2 separate regions of the Homo sapiens genome follow, and region 2 is linked to region 1. Evidence: promoter capture Hi-C in 16 types of primary human blood cells and fetal thymus (Javierre and others, 2016). All regions are on one chromosome and are shown on one strand. Each heading gives the region's core, a stretch centred on a gene start or on the middle of the fragment in contact. The rest is flanking DNA. Distances are from core to core; before and after follow the strand shown. Region 1 holds the start of MYOM3-AS1 (MYOM3 antisense RNA 1). Region 2 has its middle 9.4 kb from the start of SRRM1.

Region 1 (2,613 bases), core at 43-2,542:
CAGTTCCTCCCTCTGTGTTCACAGATTTTGACAAGCTTCTGAGGAAGGCAGATGCTAAGAGAAGGGACTGGAAGAGAAAACAGGGTAAGAGCTGCTGGGGTGAAGTTCAAAATCCCTGGCCACTGGTTCGTGCTAGAGATGCTGGACTGCGGATTAATGGGAACCCCAGCCCTGCTGGGTCCCCAAGGGAGGTCCACTGTCATTCAGTCCAGTTCTGTCCCAGTGCCAGATCAAAATAGCTCTTGCCTGACCTGAGGGTGAGAGCTGAGCCCTCTTAAATTTTGCACCCTGAAGCCAGGCACAGTGCCCCACACCTGTAATCCTAGCACTTTGGGAGGCCAAGGTGGTCAGATCACTTGAGGCCAGGAGTTCAAGACCAGCCTGGCCAACATGGTGAAACCCTATCTCTATGAAAAATACAAAAATTAGCCGAGCATGGTGGCACACGCCTGTAATTCCAGCTACTCAGGAGGCTGAGCCACAAGAATCCTTGAAACCAGGAGGCGGAGCTTGCAGTGAGCCGAGATTGCGCCACTGCACTCTAGCCTAGGCAACAGAGCGAGACTCTGTCTCAAAAATAAAGAAAGAAAGAAAGAAGGAAGGAAACAAAGGAAGGAAGGAAGGAAGGAAGGAAGGAAGGAAGGAAGGAAGGAAGGAAGGAAGGAAAAAGAAAGAAAGAAGGAAAGAAAGAAAGAAAGAAAGAAAGAAAGAAAGAAAGAAAGAAAGAAGGAAAGAAAGAAAGAAAGAAGGAAAGAAAGAAAGAAAGAAAGGAAGGAAGAAAGAAAGAAAGAAATTTGCGCTCTGAGCACCGCCCCTGCCTCACCCCAGTCCCAGCCCTGGCAGAGGCAGCATCTGAGAAGTCCATAGCCATTAGCTGTCCCTCCCCCCAGCACTGCCTGGACACAGGTGGCACCCTGGCTGAGCCTGGCTCTCTGACAGTGGGCACATTTGTTTTGCACGCACAGGTCCCTATTTTGAGCGGCCGTTGCAGTGGAAGGTCACGGAGGACTGCCAAGTGCAGCTGACGTGCAAGGCAAGTCCTGCCCTGCCCTGCCCCCAGGCCCAGTGCAGGGGGACCTGTGGCTTGTCCCCAAGCCCAGTTGCTGTCCCTGCCCACCCGGCCCCCTAAATTCCATACTCTGTGCTTGGCTGATCGCACACACAGAAAGTACCCCCGAGGAGACCACACGTAACCCAAAAAGCAAACCCACCTTCCCAGCGCCCATGGGGTAGGATTCGTGTGAGGTGGACCAGCCTTGAACGAGATCCTAGTGGCTCCAGAAGGGGTTCTGAGGGGTCAGGGGGTCTAGGAGCCCACGAGGGTTTATATGTTGAGGGGTATCCCTGTGTTTATGATTACCCTGTGCTCAGAGACTCACAGTATTATTTCATCCGCCTCACAATCATCTGTGACACAGGCATTACTATCCTCACTTCATAGATGAGAAAACAAATGGAGAAATAGCTCAAGGCCACACGGTAAGAGGGAGAGCCCAGGTTTGAACAAGTCTATCTGATTCCAAAGCCTAAGGTCCTTCTTAGCACTCTTCAGCCTGTTTAGATAACTGGGGAAGGGGAGGGTGGGTGCTCTCCCAGAAGCATATTCATTCAGTAAACTCAGAGCATCTATTTTGTGCCACTCTGCACGGTACTGAACGTACAAAGATGATGAAGTGGTCTCTGTGGGCCTTGGGAGCCCATGTTCAAGGCAGGACCATTGGAAAACAGCATCCCTCATGCTTGACCCGGATGGGGCAGGACATTGATGAATCGTGATGGAGGGGGTGACTATGGGATGCTTCAAAAAAAAGGCTTCCTGGAGGAGATGACATTTAACTGAAGCACATGGACATTTCCAAGAAAAATAGAGTAAGGCAGGGATCAAGAGGCAGAGGGAAAACCATTAGCAAGAATTCAGAGTCCAGAGGCCAGCAGAGGAGACACATGGTATGTGAAAGGACTCCACTGAGATGCCTGAAAGTGTGCACAGGTGTGTTTTTACTCAAAAAGAAACAAGCCTGACAGAGTCTCCTCATTCCCCACCTTCCCCAGGTGACCAACACCAAGAAGGAGACTCGCTTTCAGTGGTTCTTCCAGAGGGCAGAGATGCCAGATGGTCAGTATGACCCAGAGACGGGAACGGGACTTCTCTGCATTGAAGAGGCAAGTGTGGCTCCAGCTTCAGGGCTCACTTTCTCCTTTGGCTGCAAGCCAGGGAGGGCCAAGAGCTCTGGGCTGGGAGTCAGGGCAGGGCCGAGGCTAGGTTGATGCAAGTGAGGCCCTGAGCACAAAATTTAAGAGGCACCAAAAAACTCAGTAATCAAGATAAATAATATTGTATGCAATATTCTAAAAAATCAAAATTAATGCAAAAAAACTATTAAAGCCCCCAAATTTTCAATAGAGACAGAATCAGTATTACTGATTTTTTTCTTTAGCTCCAGTACTGGCCCTGCCAATGACTGTGCAGGCTTGGGCTAGCCCCCGTCGCTCTCTGACCTCAGCTTTCATCTGCAACATGAGCGGGTTGGAAGGGATGCTCTTTCAACGCCTCCTTCCTGCCCCAACAGTCTAGGAGTCGGGACAGGAAGGATGTCTCCATGTGAGGCAGAT
Region 2 (2,613 bases), core at 70-2,569, 570 kb before region 1:
ATAATATTACCAGAAGAATAACAGCAACAGGCATCAGAGAAAAACGTAACATCTTTGCTTGTCATCCCATGGAAAGACCTCCACAGATGTTATATTCAAGTATTATGTTTGCTTTTTTTTTTTTTTTTTGGAGACAGAGTCTCGCTCTGTCACACAGGCTGGAGTGCAGTGGTGCGATATCAGCTCACTGCAACCTCCGCCTCCCGGGTTCAAGCAATTCTCCTGCCACAGCCTCCCGAGCAAAGCTGGGATTACAGGCATGCGGCATTATGCCAGGCTAATTTTTGTATTTTTATTAGAGATGGGGTTTCACCATGTTGGCCAGGCTGGTCTTGAACTCCTGACCTCAAGTGATATTCCCGTCTTGGCCTCCCAAAGTGCTGGGATTACAGACGTAAGCCACCGTGCCTGGCTGCATTTTTTTTCTTTTCTTTTTTTTTTTTAGATGGAGTCTCACTCTGTTGCCCAGGCTGGAGTGCAGTGGCATGATCTCGGCTCACTGCAACCTCCGGCTCCCGGGTTCAAGCAATTCTCTGACTTCAGCCTCCTAAGTAGTTGGGATTACAGGCATGTGCCAACACACTTGGCTAATTTTTGTATTTTTAGTAGAGATGGAGTTTTACCATGTTTGCTAGGCTGATCTCGAACTTTTGACCTTAAGTGATCCGCCCGCCTCAGCCTCCCAAACTGCCGAGATTACAGACGTGAGCCACTGTGCCCGGCCATGTTTGCATATATATATATTTTAGGTGGAGTCTTGCTCTGTCGCCAGGCTGGAGTGCAGTGGCACGATCTCGGCTCACTGCAACCTCTGCCTCCCAGGTTCAAGCAATTCTCCTGCCTCAGCCTCCCAAGTAGCTGGGACTACAGGCACACCACCACGGCTGGCTAATTTTTGTTATTTTTAGTAGAGACGGGGTTTCACCATGTTGGCCAGGATAGTCTCATCTCTCGACCTCGTGATCTGCCCATCTCGGCCTCCCAAAGTGCTGGGATTACAGGTGTGAGCAACCGCGCCCAGCCCATGTTTGCATATTTTTAAAACAAGAGCTGGAAGAATAAGAGCAGCACCCATCAGATGGGAAATGAAGAACCATGGTTGGAATTCCCTGTACCTGTCTATGTTCTCTCTGTATTTAGATGGCAGTACTTTTCTTTTATATGGGATTTCATAATAATAATTACCATTTTGGGGGGGTCATATTATGTCAGGCTTTGTGTTAATGCTTTAAACACTTTAGCTAATTCAGTCTTCACAATAATATCTAGCAGATTGTTACAGGCTGAATTGTCTCCCCCTCCCAACCCCTGGCCGAATTGTCTCCCCCTCTCAACCCCTGCCCTGTCCCTTCACCATCTCCAAATTCATATTGAGGTCCTAACCTCCAGTACCTTGGAATGTGACTGTATTTGGAGATAGCGTCCTTAAAAAGGTAATTAAGTTAGAATGAGACCATTAGGTGGGTCCTTATCCAATATAATTGGAGTCCTTATAAGAAGGGGAAATTGGCTGGGCACAGTGACTCATGCCTGTAATCCCAGCACTTTGGGAGGCCGAGGTGAGCGGATCACTTGAGGTCAGGGGTTCGAGACCAGCCTGGCCAACATGGTGAAACCCCATCTCTACTAAAAACACAAAAATCAGCTGGGCGTAGTGGCAGGTGCCTGTCGTCCCCGCTACTTGGGAGGCTGCGGCAGGAGAATTGTTGAACCTAGGAGGCGGAGGTTGCAGTGAGCCAAGATCGTGCCACTGCACTCCAGCCTGGGTGACAGAGCAAGACCTATCTCAAAAATAAATAAATAAATAAAGAAGAAGAGGAAATTAAGATACAGACGCACACACAGAGGGAAGACCAAATTAAGACATAAGGAGCAGACGGCCACCTATAAGCCAAGGAGAGATGCTTCAGAAGAAAACAACCCTGCTGACACTTGATCTTGGACTTCCAGCCTCCAGAACAGTGATAAAATACACTTCTGTTGCTTAAGCCACCCAGTGTGTGATACTTTGTTATGGCAGCCCTAGCAAGCTAATACATCGGTATTATTCCTGTTTTACAGATGAGTACAGTAAGGCGTGAGAAAAAGTGAGTTGTGTAAAATCACACAGGCAACATACAACAGAACTTACTTTCAGGGTTTGGTCCATCTGCTTAGGGTTAAGACCACATTACCAGTTGCTTGACATTCATGTAGGTGTTAAAGCAAATGGCTGGAGGAGGGAATATAGACAGATCTTATCTTTCTGGTGAATGAGCAAACAAGCCTTTCTTCATCTGGCCAGTGACTGCCTCCCAGCTGGTTCCCAAATCCACAAGGTGAGAGGAAGGGAAAGCCAGTGAGGCCTGTGCCAATTTTCTTCACCTTCAGGCCCAGCAACACTTGGACAGCAGGGGTCATAGTGGTCAGTGATTAAAAATCATCCTTGACTTCATTTAAAAATAATCAATAGCTCTTGTTGCTCTAAGTGGCCTTTCTTTTTTCTCTTTACCTCCCACACCCAAATTCCCTAGCTAGGCAGGGTCCTTAACACATTGTCTTGTAAATGTAGGGCTGGCTAGAGACCATTCAGCATATATGATAAACAAGACTTCTCTTTTGACCCTGGAGAAT

What was found. The method cuts DNA at HindIII sites, captures the fragments that hold promoters and counts their contacts. A CHiCAGO score of 5 or more calls a contact.
Region 2: a fragment that was not itself captured here is called in contact with the fragment with the promoter of MYOM3-AS1 in region 1 in 2 of 17 cell types (naive B cells and total B cells); the score reaches 7.3 in naive B cells.

What each region holds. Positions count from the first base shown.
Region 1 is chr1:24,065,441-24,068,053 of GRCh38, reverse strand. It overlaps MYOM3-AS1 (MYOM3 antisense RNA 1), which reads right to left and starts at 1,292. Exons shown (of 3, transcript XR_001737930.2): 1 at 1,212-1,292. It overlaps MYOM3 (myomesin 3), which reads left to right. Exons shown (of 37, transcript NM_152372.4): 27 at 25-84; 28 at 966-1,033; 29 at 2,053-2,163. The HindIII fragment of the contact is 6,627 bases long and covers 38-2,613 here.
Region 2 is chr1:24,632,618-24,635,230 of GRCh38, reverse strand. No RefSeq gene overlaps it. Among named protein-coding and RNA genes, the nearest start is that of SRRM1, 9.4 kb to the left of the region's middle. The HindIII fragment of the contact is 3,320 bases long and covers 1-2,613 here.